Linked DNA regions of Homo sapiens: regions 1, 3 and 4 are each linked to region 2. Evidence: promoter capture Hi-C in 16 types of primary human blood cells and fetal thymus (Javierre and others, 2016). All regions are on one chromosome and are shown on one strand. The core of a region is centred on a gene start or on the middle of the fragment in contact, and the rest is flanking DNA. Distances in the headings are between cores, read along the strand shown.

What was found. The method cuts DNA at HindIII sites, captures the fragments that hold promoters and counts their contacts. A CHiCAGO score of 5 or more calls a contact.
Region 1: a fragment that was not itself captured here is called in contact with the fragment with the promoter of ZNF133 in region 2 in 1 of 17 cell types (naive CD4 T cells); the score reaches 5.0 in naive CD4 T cells.
Region 3: a fragment that was not itself captured here is called in contact with the fragment with the promoter of ZNF133 in region 2 in 1 of 17 cell types (naive CD4 T cells); the score reaches 5.0 in naive CD4 T cells.
Region 4: a contact is called between the fragment with the promoter of XRN2 here and the fragment with the promoter of ZNF133 in region 2, in 4 of 17 cell types (total B cells, monocytes, activated CD4 T cells and 1 more). The highest score is 12.6, in total B cells.

Annotation. Positions count from the first base shown.
Region 1 is chr20:21,549,100-21,552,414 of GRCh38, reverse strand. No RefSeq gene overlaps it. Among named protein-coding and RNA genes, the nearest start is that of LINC01727, 19 kb to the left of the region's middle. The HindIII fragment of the contact is 3,557 bases long and covers 39-3,315 here.
Region 2 is chr20:18,287,135-18,290,882 of GRCh38, reverse strand. It overlaps ZNF133 (zinc finger protein 133), which reads right to left and starts at 2,356. Exons shown (of 7, transcript NM_001352452.2): 1 at 2,279-2,356. RefSeq lists enhancers at 1,624-1,743, 2,304-2,643, 1,749-2,654, 2,734-2,783. The HindIII fragment of the contact is 851 bases long and covers 1,903-2,753 here.
Region 3 is chr20:13,640,154-13,643,493 of GRCh38, reverse strand. No RefSeq gene overlaps it. Among named protein-coding and RNA genes, the nearest start is that of TASP1, 2.9 kb to the right of the region's middle. The HindIII fragment of the contact is 2,746 bases long and covers 693-3,340 here.
Region 4 is chr20:21,301,085-21,304,580 of GRCh38, reverse strand. XRN2 (5'-3' exoribonuclease 2) reads right to left here and starts at 1,250. Exons shown (of 30, transcript NM_012255.5): 1 at 1,108-1,250. The coding sequence starts at 1,182. RefSeq lists an enhancer at 653-702 and a silencer at 1,423-1,552. The HindIII fragment of the contact is 6,284 bases long and covers 1-3,496 here.

The DNA.
Region 1 (3,315 bases), core at 568-3,067, 3.3 Mb before region 2:
CCAAGGGAGACCCTCCTTCCTAGATGTCACTTCAAGCTTCTCTCTAGACCTGCCAAAGCCCACAGCTTCCTTCTCATCCACTCATGAGAATCATGATCCAGCAAGTAGAAGAAAGAGACAGGACAATATTCTTTTTTGCTTGGTTTTGCTGTGGGCGCTTTATACAAAACACTAATTTAATATGATTATAATAGTAAAATACATTAAGCACATTTTTTAAAAATCCAGTTGCATTAACAACAAAATAAATGAAAATTAAAATAATAAACCAGGACAGCACAAAAATTTCAAATGATGCCCTGTGTTGTCAAAAGGGCAGAAAAACCAACACTTCTCATAAACTATGAAAGAGTAAGCTCTTCCTGGAAATCAATTTGGTTAATACACATAAAAAATCTTTAAAATTTGCACTTACTTTAACCCAATAACTTTATCTTTTAAATTATTTTATTTTATTTTACTCTAAGTTCTGGGATACATGTGCTGAACATGCAGGTTTGTTACATAGGTATACATGTGCCATGGTGGTTTGCTGCACCCATCAACCCATCATCTAGGTTTTAAGCCCTGCATGCATTACATATTTGTCCTAATGCTCTCCCTCCCCTTGCCCTCACCCCCTGACAGGCCCCGGTGTGTGATGTTCCCCTCCCTGTGTCCATGTGTTCTCATTGTTCAACTCTCACTTATGAGTGAGAACACGTGGTGTTTGGTTTTCTGTTCCTGTGTTAGTTTGCTGAGGATGATGGTTTCCAGCTTCATCCATGTCCCTGCAAAGGACATGAATTCATTTTTTTATGGCTGCATAGTATTCCATGTAAACCCAATAATTTTAAAGAAATAACTTATAGGGGCTCGGCGTGGTGGATCCTGCCTATAATCCCAGCACTTTAGGAGGCCAAGGCGGGTAAATGGCTTGAGCCCAGGAGTTTGAGACAAGCCTGGGCAACATGGCACAACCACATCTACAAAAAATGCAAAAATTAGCTTGGCATGGTTGCATGCCCCTACTGTAGTCCAGCTACTTGCGGGTGCTGAGAGAAGAGAATCACTTGAGCCCAGGAGGTTGAGGCTTCGGTGAGCTATGATTGTGCCACTGCACTCCAGCCTGGGTGACAGAATAAGACCCTGTCACAGAAAAAAAAAAAAAAAAGAAAGAAAGAAAAGAAAAAGAAAGAAAGAACTTGTAGGAATTTACAGTGAGAAAATTATCAATGGATTTATATCTCTGCCACCAAGCACAGTGCATGGCACACAGAGGTGCTCAGTAAATGTTTGCACAATGAATATTATTTACAAATAATATAAATTTTATATATGTAACTTACAACTTCTAATAGCTGTGTTAGAAGTTGAAAATGGTTTGCAAAGGAGGAACATCTACTATCTTTACTTAGCAAATATTATTTATCCAAAGAAAAGCAGCTGCATGATGCATCACAGTTTTGTTTTCTTGTGTTGTTTTTTGAGACAGGGTCTCTCAGTGTTGCCTGGGTTGGCCTCAAACTCCTGGACTCAAGCAATCCTCCAGCCTCAGTCTCCCACGTAGCTGAGTACATCACAGTTTTCAAAGCAGTTTCATATGCATCACTTCCTTGGCCCTCACAGCAACAATGAGGATATTACCAGCCCATTTTATAGATGAGGAAACTAAGGCCTCGGAGAGATTAAGTAAATTGTGAAAGACATTTGAAAATGAAGAGTCCTTGAAACAACGTGTTCTTTCAGTCCAAGCTCCCCAGCTTCCCGACAGCCCGGGTGGTAGGTTTTCTCCACCTCTTCCTTAAGTCAGTTCCAGCTCTCCAGATTAAACTAGCAAGCACCTAATTTCCATTCTGACTCCCAGCCATTGTCTCTTCTTTGCTTCTTGTGGAAATGATGTAGGAGTTGCTCCCTTGAGCACTCACTGTAGCTTTAGATGTGCTTCCTCTCTGCAGCATGAGCTACTCGGCCTTACTATTCCCCGTACTTAATTTGAGAATATTTGTTCAATTTGAGTGTGTTTTTGACCTGCCAGGTATCTGTGAAACAAAATAACTCCTACTGATAGCTTCTTATCAAGAGTAATTTAAAACATCCATCATCTACTGCTGAATGTCAAAATAAAGGTTGAGAGAAATTCCTGTTTCCCTAAATATGTTTTCTTTTCACTCTTGTCAGCATCATTGTCAATCCTGAAATTATAGTGTGCCATGGAAGACCTCAGAAATTGAGGCTTCAGAAACTGTTACAATGAGAACATACAAATCAGCCCGTGGTTCCCAAAGGCCCTGGACATAGTCGCCCCGGCAGAGGAGCCTGGGACCAACCTGTGCCAGGATCCGGAAACAAAATGAGCACCCTGGAGAGGCAACTGTCCCTCCTTGTAATCCTGGGTGGAAGTTTATAGTATTCAATTAGTTATTCCAGAGCCTTGTTGGTGTGCAGACTATTTTCTACCGCCCTCCTGACAATGATTAAGCAGAAGGAGGGAGAAAAGGACAAATCTATATTAATAGCCCCCTCTATTTAAACAACCCTGTGATTTTCATCATGTGGAGGCTGGAGATTGTGTTTTTTCAGTTCTTTCTGTCACCAACTCAGCTACTGGATGTACCTGGGTACACACCTGCCAACAGAGACCCAGCAAGAGATGGAGGCTGGAGGGAGAGGCATGAGCTTAAAGCACCAGCCATAACAGAGAACTTACAGAAAGATAATGTCATTCAGTGTTATCTGGTAGAAAACTCCAATGTTCCTAAGATCCAGCTAAGAAGTGCTCCCATTCTCCATTCCCAAGGTTCACCCCTGGAACAGTCTGGAATTGTCTTTAGAGGAAAAGAATTCAATCACTTCAGAAAATCAGCAAATATATATTAAGCACAAACAAAATTCAAGGTATGGTATACCTGCAAATAGATTGAGATATGAGAATTTTCCCATCTTTAAGGGATTTATCATTGTAAAGGAAGTTATTAGAAGTAGGACCTGGGACGTGGATGGTAGGCATAGGCTGGCTGTTCAGAGGCCTATGCACAAGCATTCCCTGCCACAAGGGTGGAGCTCCATTTCCAGCTTGTGACTGCTGGAGAGACAGTGGTGTGTGGAGTTGGGGGGCATTATATGGATGTGTGCCCCTTTAAGAAGGTTTTGATGGGCGGGGCGTGGTAGCTCACACTTGTAATCCCAGCACTTTGGGAGGCCAAGGAGGGTAGATCACTTGAGGTCAGGAGTTCAAGACCAGCCTGGCAGACATGGTGAAACCCCGTCTCTACTAAAAATAAAAAAACTAGCCGGGCATGGTGGCAGGCGCCTGTAATCCCAGCTACTCGGGAG
Region 2 (3,748 bases), core at 1,107-3,606:
AGTGCTGATTACAGGTGTGAGCCACTGTGCCCGGCCAGGAGGACACAACTTCTAATGGGAAGTAAGTTTGGAAACAAGGATGCAAGGAAAACTCAGAGGTCCAGCTTATATCAAGTTATAAGGCTGTCAACACAGATCAGCAAGATCAGAAGAAATAGGAGGAGAAATGAGGCAGAGATAGGGAAAACTGGGATGCTGTTTCCAGATACTTTTCCCTCTCCTGCCTCTGACCAGGGCTGTTCTGACTGGTGGAAAAAAAAGATTTTTTTTTTAACAATGGGGGAAAACAATATGGGCTAGATATTAAATGATATTAATAAGTTATTAATTTTGTTGGGTATAACAAAATATAATTGTAACAATGTAACTGTATAACAATGAAATTGTGGTTATGTTAAAAAAAGAAGTCCTTATGTGTTAGAGATGCCTCCTGAAGTGTTCCCAGGTGAAATGATATAACTGGGATTTGCTGCCAAAACTCTAGCAGGGAAAAGAGTAAGTGAGAGTATTGGAAGACAGAAGAACAGAATGTTAACAACTTCACAGGACCTGACAAGCCCTGGGAATGAGCAGTCTGAACAAATACTGAAAGAAGGAATGTAGGGGAAGAATATAGGTGTAATGAATGAGAGCATCAGCTCTGAAAAATATTCCCTGTGAAAATGATCACTCTTAAAACAAGCCTAGTTTCCTGAAGGAACCAGCTGGGGCCCTGATCCCTGGATGGGACATTGTAGAACACAGACGTCAAAGCTGAGCAAAAGAAACCCACTCATGGTTCGAAATGCAAAAGGTAAGTGGCACCCACCTGAAGCTGGGCTGTCAGGAGCTCAGGAGTACCCCCTTTCCCCAGCAGGCAGTCCTCTCTGGGCAGACAGGAGCCACAGGGAGGCAGAACAAGAACAAAAAGCGTTCAAGAAAATCAAGGGAAATCCTCTCCAGCAGGGCAGTACCTCCTATTCCTTAACAGCATCAGGAATGAACCTGCCACAGAAGAAAAGGAGAAAAGAACTGCGGGCAGCTTCCTGGGAACACAGCTGGGGTACAGGTTGAAAGCACGACCTGCCCTGATATGCTGTTGACGCTGAGCATGAAGCGACCTTCTCTGTGCCTGTTATTAATGAAAGGTAATATTCACTGAACACTTAGTATACACCAGAGACTGTTACAGCCACTGTAGGAGTTTCACCTCATTCTATCCTTTCAACAACCCAATACGATAGATGCTATTATCCTCTTTAGGATAAAATCGAGGAAACTGAGGTACAGTGAAGTCAGCATCTTGCCCAAGGTGACACAGCTATAAAGTGACAGAGCCTAGAGGAAATGTGGCTGTGGAGACCGTGCTCTTACACAGTAAGGGCAGTGACGGTGAACTCTGGATTGCAAGGATTCTCTGTGTCCATTCTGAGATGAATCAAGATTGGTCATAAGGTTTTAAGTGTTGAATCTGGGTGATGGAGATCTGGTCTATAGAGTTCTATCTACTTCTGGCTGTTTGAAATTTCTCCGCAATAAAAACTTAAATGGAATGTAAAATCCCAAAGCCTGGCCACACCAGGGGCCTGGGAATCCGTAATTCTTGCGATCAATGACGGTCCCTGGGACCTTTGGAAAAAACCTGTCCTGTGCGTCCCAGCCAGACTTCCTCCTCCAACGCCCGAACCCGGGGGTGACCAACCAAAGTGAAACCCTAAGATCGCGGCAAAATGGCCACCCCAGATCCAGTCTAACCTTGGCTTGTTTGGTCAAGCCAGACCGCTCCTCATTCCACTCCAGCAAAGCCGAAGAATAGTGTGGCCCCAAGAGACTAGCCCTCAACCGACCAATGCCTCGGGGACACATGGCCCCAGGGATGGTTCCCATTCCACCACCTGGGAAATACCATTCCCCCAAAAAGCTTATTTATTCAACTCCCCCAAAACCGGGGACTTATGGCATCAGCGACTCCCTTTCCCAATACCCGACTTCAGCCAAAGCCGAACCTGTCCCCACCCACAAGAACCCTAGGAGAGAGAGCCCGATCCCCCACTCATCACCATCCAGTTTCACGGATGGGCTTCACCCAACTCCCCTGGAGATGCACGCCCACACCCCCAAAATAAGACATCTGGGAGAGGACGGCCTGCGCCACGCCAGCGCGTTCCCACCACAATCACCACCCCCGCGCCACCCGCACGGTCCCCAAATTCAGCCCATAGTCCAGCCTTTCGGGACCTTCCTTTTCGCGCAGAAAAGGGTACGGCTGCGGCAAGGGTCCCGCGGGAGCCTCACTCACCAGCGCCACCAAAGAACAAGGGGTCGCTCCAGCCACCAGCTGGGGAGCTCCTCCAGCGGGGCGCCAGGACTACACTACCCCGAATCCTCGGCACAGCGCCCGGACCACACCTCCCAGGATGCTCGGCGCCACCAGGCGCGCCCTGAAGGCCGGCAGCTCCCATTGGCCTCTGACGGATCCGTTTCTGAGTAACACGCTCCGGTCACCGGAGAATGGCCACTGTGGCACCTGAATTCTCCCTCTTTTTTCTTAACCACGTGCATAAAACACGTAGGAGCTCCCGAGAAGAGTGCCTGGCCCTACTGTGACCCTCCTTCTGAGCGCCTCTGTCTCGAAAACTACACTTCCCAGTGACCCCTGGAGCGACTTCCGCACCCGGTACCGGCCCCGCCCCTTGGCGCGCGGAAATGACGTTTCGGGGCGCATCTGTTCGGCTTCTGGGGTTGGCGGAGGTGTACCGCTGGCTGACCAAGCTTGTTCAGGTGCTGGTTTGTGTTGCAGCGGCCTGTGGTCTCCCTGGCTCCAGCCGCCTGCTTGGAAAGTCACGCCCCATATTCCTAAACACCGGGCGAACGTCATGTCGTATACCCTTTAGCTCCATTTAAAGCCTTGAAAAGGCCGAGCAGTCTGCCTGAAGTCTCACATCCCGTACGAGGTAGACCCGATTCTGAGCCCACGCCCTCAACCCGAATACACCTTTTCCGGTGCCCTGAGACCTTTTTCTTCTTTTTGAAATCCACGAAGTTATTGTTAAACTCTCATCTCCTGAGAAGCAGAAGCCTCAGTCTCGGGCCAGAGCTTGGCCTGCCGTCGGCTTGGATCTCTAGGTCTTTGTCCGGGATCCTGGTTGAGAACAAGATTGCGCTGGTGCCATCTGGGACGCCCCATCTGGGGAGCTCGAGGGGAAGGCCCACGTCACTCTTGAGAGGGCTTTTCCACCCGTGCACCCTCTCACTGCCCTTCACCTTCCTCAGATAGGCTTTCTGAAACTTTGTCATTCTCTTGGAAGACCAAGAAAATGACCACTGTCTGAAGGGCCAGGGAGATGAGAATTTCCTAAAATTCTTTTGTAGCTCTCAGAGGGTGAATCCATTCCCTTCTGGTACCCCGAGGCTACATTATTTATTGTGAATTCAGTTCAGTCCTGGCTCCGGAGACATGTCCAGTGTCAATTGGATTCATCCCTCAACATCATTCTCTGCCTCATGAGTCAGTCATCACCAAGAAATTAGTTGTTAATACACATAAAGGTTCAGAACAACAATGCAGGGATGCCTGTGTTCAAGTGTTCACTTGTGCTGGCTGTACAATAAAGACACAGATGGCTGACATCTCTTAAGCCTGGAAATGAAGACTTACAGGATGAGGTGCTGCCTGAGGAATTAGGCAAGATGAGGAGTTGGAAGAACACAGACGAGTAAGGAAGAGTGTAGGAAGTGTGAACAGAATCTCAGGGTCTGAGCCACTGGG
Region 3 (3,340 bases), core at 816-3,315, 4.6 Mb after region 2:
AATAAACATCCAACGTGGACTAATCTCAACGTGTGACATTAATACACATAAAAGAGTTTTCATACTGTAAAATTCCATTCATATAATGTTTAAATATAGAGAAAATGGATGTGTGATGTTAGATGTCAGGATTACCCTGGGGCGAGGTCATGATTTTTTTCACTTGATCTGAGGAATGGTTACACACTGTGTTTACTATATGAAGAATCATCAAGCTGTACTTTTCTGTATTTATGTTTAACATCAATAAAATGTTTTTTTTTCTTTTTAAATCTCTGTTCTAGCTGGGTGCAGTTGCTCACATCTGTAGTCCCAGCTACTTGGGAGACTTAGGCAGGAGGATGGCTTGATCCCAGGAGTTTGAGGCTGCAGTGAGCCATGGTAGCATCGCTACACTCCAGCCTGGGTGCTACAACAAGACACTGTCTCAAAAAAATAAAAAATAAAAAATAAATAAAGATAGCCCCATCTTTATGGAACTGACTTTACAGGAGAGATGATTAATAAACTAAAAGAATGGGGAAAATTGTAGAGGATTAGTTGGGGTGTGTGCTACTGATAGAGATAAAACAGGAAGGAGAACAGGCAGGGTAGTGTGATTGCAATTTAAAATAAGGTGGTTAGGAAAAAGTGATTGAGAAGCTGACACTGGTTCTGGTTCAGCAAATTGTATTTCATGTTTATAACAAGCTTATGAGAATGGGGGGACACTCTTTACATGTTACAATAAAAAAGCTAAGAGATTGCAGAGAAAGGTGTTAAATCACAAACTGGTCAGACAGTTTGTTGTGCAGGAAGAATATTTATATTGCCCTATGAATGGGGGATGACAACATAGCTGGCCAGATAATTGACAGACAACAAGGATGAAACCAGAGATGGCAGGTGGGCCACCTTTCATCTTACCAGTCTTCGTCAGGGCTCCGAAGACAATGTGTTGTCATCAGGGCTTGACATGGGAGTCAAGTAATCTCTGGATTATTTGTCTTGCTCAAAATTTTATATATTAAAGAAGATAAAAGGAATTTGTTGGAAGGATAGGGAGTACCTAAGATAATTGAAAGAAAAACTAAGGAAGCAGGTTTTGGAAAAATACAAGCTCTGGAGCAGTAACAGGGAACTCTGTAACCTTGGTTGAATAAACAACTGCTTTTACTCTTTGCATTATTGCTGTCAATTTTCAAATTCCAGGCAAGAAGCAGCTTTAGCTTAGCATGGGTCAGTTGATCATCCCACGGAGCATCCTGATGGACAGTCCCACTTACGCTGGGTGCAAGTGGTGAAGGGCAGTCCCTGGAAGTGAAGTGGGGTGCTGTTAGGAGAAATAAGAAGGAATTCATGCTGGGCAGGCGAAACAACTGTTGTCTACCATAGGACTGCTTGAAGGGTTGTCGCAGTCCATCTATAATTGAAACTTTCTTTTTTCCACGTGGTAGGCAAAATTCTAAGATGACCTGCAAGATTTCTACCCCTGGTGCACAGACCCTGTATGATCCTCTCCCCTGGAGTGTGGATGGAAGCTGAGAATATGATGGCCATCCCTCCTGAAACTTGACGACGAATCATTGACTCTGTGTTCATCAAAGGAGAGATTATCCTGGGGGACCTGACCTAATCAGTTGAGTCCTTTCAAGGTGGAAAAGTCAGAGAGGACTGCTCCTCCTGACCTTGAAGAAGACAAAAGTGGCCAGCTCTACAGCTGCAAGGATTTGAATTCTGCCAATCACCTGAATGAGCTTGGAGAATCGCTCTGGGCATCCGATGAGATGGCAGCTCTGACTGACACCTTGATTTCAGCCTTCTGAGATCTGAGCAGAGACCTGGACACCTGATCCACAGAAACGGAAATATTACATTTGTGTTGTCTTAAGCAGGTGAATTGGTGTTAACTTGCGGCACAACAATTGAAAACTATCACTATTGTTCTGCTACATTTCTGACACATGTGTTAAAGCAATAGTTTTCCAGGAATACAAAACAAAGGGAGACCCCCAGGGAACCAGGACAGAGGGGGCTTACTTAGAGTACAAAGATCAAGATGCAGCAGACATGATTATTTGAGATAAAGGAAGTAATTCCTCAGCTTGCTGCTTTTCCGGGTTTGGGAGAGGTGGGAACAGGAAGAGGGAGGCAACCAGATTTTTTCTGAAGGAGATTTACTAGTATAGACTTTCCTTTCAAATTTAACATGTTGAGTTAATCAAATAGATATTACAACTGTTCGTTATTAATATTTCAAAGGATCTCATTGTTACTGTACCCAATGCAGGTTAAAAATGTTAAAACTTGGGTCTGGGCTGGGCATGGTGGTTCATGCCTGTAATCCCAGCACTTTGGGAGGCCGAGATGGGTGGATCACCTAAGGTCAGGAGCTCGAGACCAGCCTGGCCAGCATGACAAAACCCCATCTTTACTAAAAAGACAAAAATTAGCCGGGCGTGGTCACGGGCACCTGTAATCCCAGCCACTGGGGAGGCTGAGGCAGGAGAATCACTTGAACCGGGGAGGCAGAGGTTGCAGTGAGCTGAGATCGCACCACTGCATTCTAGCCTGGGCAACAGAGTGAGACTCTGCCTCAATAATAATAATAAAAAAAAGGGTCCGAAGAATTTTGTTACTTTTACTTGAGCAGTATTCACCTACCAGAGGATGGCCTGTGTGGCATCTGGGTGTGATACCCAAGACAAAAGTATACAGAGCAGCACTGGGAGATGATTATTACAATGTAGTTAAATTCCAGGAAGAATGTTGCCTAAGAAATGGAAGGGAGCATGTCTATGTCTTTTTAAAACTTTAACATCTTTCTTTTATTCCTGCTGGTTCCAGTTAATATTGCTGTGTAAAAATCCACTTTAAAGGTGCAAAAGAACAACTATTTTATTATGCTGATGGATTCTGCGGGTGAGGAATTCAGAAAGGTCACAATGGGGATGGTTTATGTCTGCTTCCTAATGCCTGGGCCAAACTTTCTGGCACTATATAACAAGGGCCCCATTTTCTCCAGCTTCCAATAACATCTTCCTTAGCTCCCTTTAAGCCCTCATTGGCAGCTTCCTCAAGTCCTTTTAGACTCTTGTTAATACTTTGGATCCCTTCCTGCTCTTGCTGCTTCACCTAGTTCCAAAGCCAGTGCCACACGTTTTACTTTTATGATGTTATTATGTTATGTTTTGTTATAATATCCATCCTACTTCTAGGTAACAAAATCGGTTTCAGTTACTATTGCTATGTAATAAACTGTTATTCTTACTATGTAATAAACTTCTTCCCCTTGCCCCTCCCTAAGAAGTCAGTGGTAGAAGAGAAAGAAAAAAAGCCCCAAGTTACATAATAAAACCAC
Region 4 (3,496 bases), core at 1-2,500, 3.0 Mb before region 2:
GTTAAAGGTGGAGAAATGGGATGAGAAGGGGTAGAGCAAGAACTGTTGCTTTTTGTTTAACCCACGTGCAAGTAAAGTTCAATAAAGTTCGATTAAAATTTTACAAAGGAAACAAGTATTCAATTTAGCAGTTGCTTTTTGAAAAAAACAAGAAATAGTGGGAATGTCACTAAGACAAGGCTTTTGGTTCCTCCTTGGATAGAAGCCAAGAAAGTTAAAAAAAAAAAAAAAAGCAGAAATAAGTTCACAGTGACAGGCAAGCACTGCCTTCAAAAACTAAGGAGTGAGGTACGCGTGATGTGCCTCTGAACGTTTCCAATCCAGAAATTCTAATTAAGAGCACAAAATCGAATCCGCATGGAATGACGAAAACAATAAAAACAAAACTCAATAATGGCCAAAAATCTACTTACGTATTAACTAACAACAAAAATTGTACTGCTCAAGTACATCCAGTAATCTTGAAATTTTCAACAAGCACCCACCCCGTTCAGTAGTCAGGGCACACAGAGAAGGGTAACTTCTCAGAATTCTATAGCGCTCATCCTGGACCTGACATACTGCTTTCAGCGTCCAATCTAACCAGAACAACAAATGGTCCTGAACACTAGGAGAAAACCTTTCCGGCACAATTGGTAAACAACGAAAAGGTCGCCGCCAGGGATTCCTTTACAAGGTTGTCAAAAAGCTGGCCTCCGAATCCGTGCATCCATAACCCGCTAGCTCAGCTGACCTGGCATGCATTGCTCAACAACAGCCTCTGAACCTCTTCCGAGACCCAAAATGCGCGGTCTGGAGAGGAAACAAAGCAGTGGGCGGGGCCTTCCGGTGCCGGGAAAAAGCGAGTAGGGGAGGAGCGACCCTCCTGCGAGTTCGGAACCCTATAGGCCCTTGCCCCGCCGAGGGTCCTGAATTCCTCGCCCCCGGGGTGCTGAATCCCACAGCCCGCGTCCCATCGCGTGTGGGGCTGCGACTGCTCGCGAGGCTGGCAGCAGGGCGCGAGCTCCGGCAAGGCTCCCCGGGGGCAGGCGGCGGAGCCCATGGGCCGCGGCCTAGACGTGCCGGGGGCCCGGGCTCGAGTGTGGCGGCCGCCTGGCGCCTCCTCACCTTCTCTTCCACGCAGTTGACTATGATGGACGGGTACTTGCGGCTGAGCCAGCGGAAGAACGCCGGGACTCCCATAGCGGCACACGGCTGGAGGCGGCGGCCGACCGGCTGACGAGCGTAACCAAAGAGACGGGAGCAGCGGCAGAGGGCACCAGCACTTCCTCCCACGTGCGCGCTGGAGAACGGAAGTGACGTCACGGCGCCGCCGCCGGGGAAGCTGGGAAGGAGGCTTCGCTGGATGAGGGAGCGGCGGAAAAGGGCCTTGCCGGGCTGTTTGTGGGAGGCGGAGTCCGGCGGCGGACCGGGTGGCGAAGGCTGCAGCTCGCCCTCGGTGGTCCCAGCCCCGGAGCGCGAGGCCGAGCGCGTCTGAGTTGCGGGGGCTCACGGGCGACTGCTCTGCCGGGGCTCCGCCGGGATCTCCCAGCCCCAGCCCTCCGGCTCCCTGGGCACAGAATCGCTGCGCTCTGCATGCCCGGGAGGAGGTCTCCCTTGCCCGTTTGGTCACCTCTTGTTTGGAAGAAAATGTCTTTTTTTGCCTCTATGCTCACCCGTCTCAATCTAGGGTAGAATCGAAGCATCCAAACTTACTCGTTACTTCCATTTCCTGGTTTCTCCTAGTTTTGTGCTGCAGTACGTACCTGGACTATCAAAAGGAGCATTTTAAAGCATTTTACAGTAATAATGGCTGCTTTGCACCAATAATTTGATTGTTATGCAAATAAATAATTATGATAGTTACCGAATGGAATCTAGCCGGTATTTAGCATCCAATACAATCTTCCAGCTACAATTACGGGTATAAAATAGTTGCTAATATGATTTTCCAGCATTTACTGAGCCTTTACAGTGTACCAAGACATTGACTAAGGGATTGTCCTATGTAATCTTCACTTGAACCTTGTGAGGGTACTGTTAGCACCCTCGTGTAAATGATAAGAAAGCCAAGTTACAGAGGAGTTAAGTCACTTATGCACATAGCTTCTGTTTCAGTTCAAGCAAAGGTCATTTTTAATCCATCCTTGTTCTAACACGATACTTTTATCTTTTGTTTTCTGGTGGTCCCAAACGAATTTTTTCCATATGAAAGGAGAGGTCTGGAAGAGGAGGTATATTTGTCCGTTTGCTCAAGCCTGGAAGTCTCCCTGAATCCCCTCTTGGTTTGACACACATCACACACGATGCTAAATGCTCACCTCATGAGGCCTCTGTGAAAGTATTTCGCCGAGTTACCTCACAGGCAGTATTTATTGCCCCCTCCTCTGTGGTCTGATGACTACTTTGTTTAAACTACTAGTGTGGAAATTAGAGAAATAGTCATCCCGTGTTTTACTTAAGGATAGCCAAAACTATTCCAAAGTATTATGTCTATGGTGAAATTCCTCCTTTTACCTGGAAGCAGCCCCTCTGGTTTCCCTGGGAGGTGCTGTTATAGGAACATGTACACCATAGGCAGTTCAGGGATAGACAGCTGGCCAAGTTGAGCCATTTAGAATCCTTAACCAGCATTTTGGCGGGTTGGGAGGGTTTATTGTTTTGTTTTTGTTTTTTCAGACGGAGTCTCAGTCATCCAGGCTGGAGTGCAGTGGCAAGATCCAGGCTCACTGCAACCTCCACCTCCCGGGTTCAAGCGATTCTCCTGCCTCAGCCTCCCGAGTAGCTGGGATTAGAGGCGCCTGCCATGACACCCCGCTGATTTTTGTGTTTTTAGTTGAGACAGGGTTTCACCATGTTGGCCAGGCTGGTCTCGAACTCCTAACCTCAGGTGATCTGCCCACCTCGGCCTTCCAGAGTGCTGGGATTACAGGTGTGAGCCACTGCACCCAGCCTTACCAGCATTTTTGAGCTTTGAACCATAAGAAATTTAAGACTGCATCTTTCCAGTGCGTGAACGCTAAAAGATAAGAATTGGGACTTGTTGCCAGTAGGCAATGAGAGAAGCAGGGTTAATTCCCTGGTTCCAGTTAAATCCCTCTCTTCCTGCAGTTTGATTAAGTCTGTCCTTTGATTCTGTGAGCCAAATTTTTTTTTTTTTTTTTTTTTAAGACAGAGTCTCACTCTGTTGCCAGGCTGGAGTGCAGTGGCACCATCTCGGTTCACTGCAACCTCCACCTCCCAGGTTCAAGCGATTCTCCTGCCTCAGCCTCCCAAGTAGCCGGGACTACCAATGTGCGCCACCACGCCCGGCTAATTTTTGTATTTTTAGTAGAGATGGGGTTTTACCATGTTGGCCAGGATGGTCTCAATCTCTTGACCTTGTGATCCGCCCGCCTTGGCCTCCCAAAGTGCTGGGATTCCAGGTGTGAGCCACCACTCCCAGCCAAAAGTTTCCTTTTGCCCTAAGCTGGCTTGGGCTAAATTCTTATCCCTTACAAAGGAAAGAGTCCAGTAA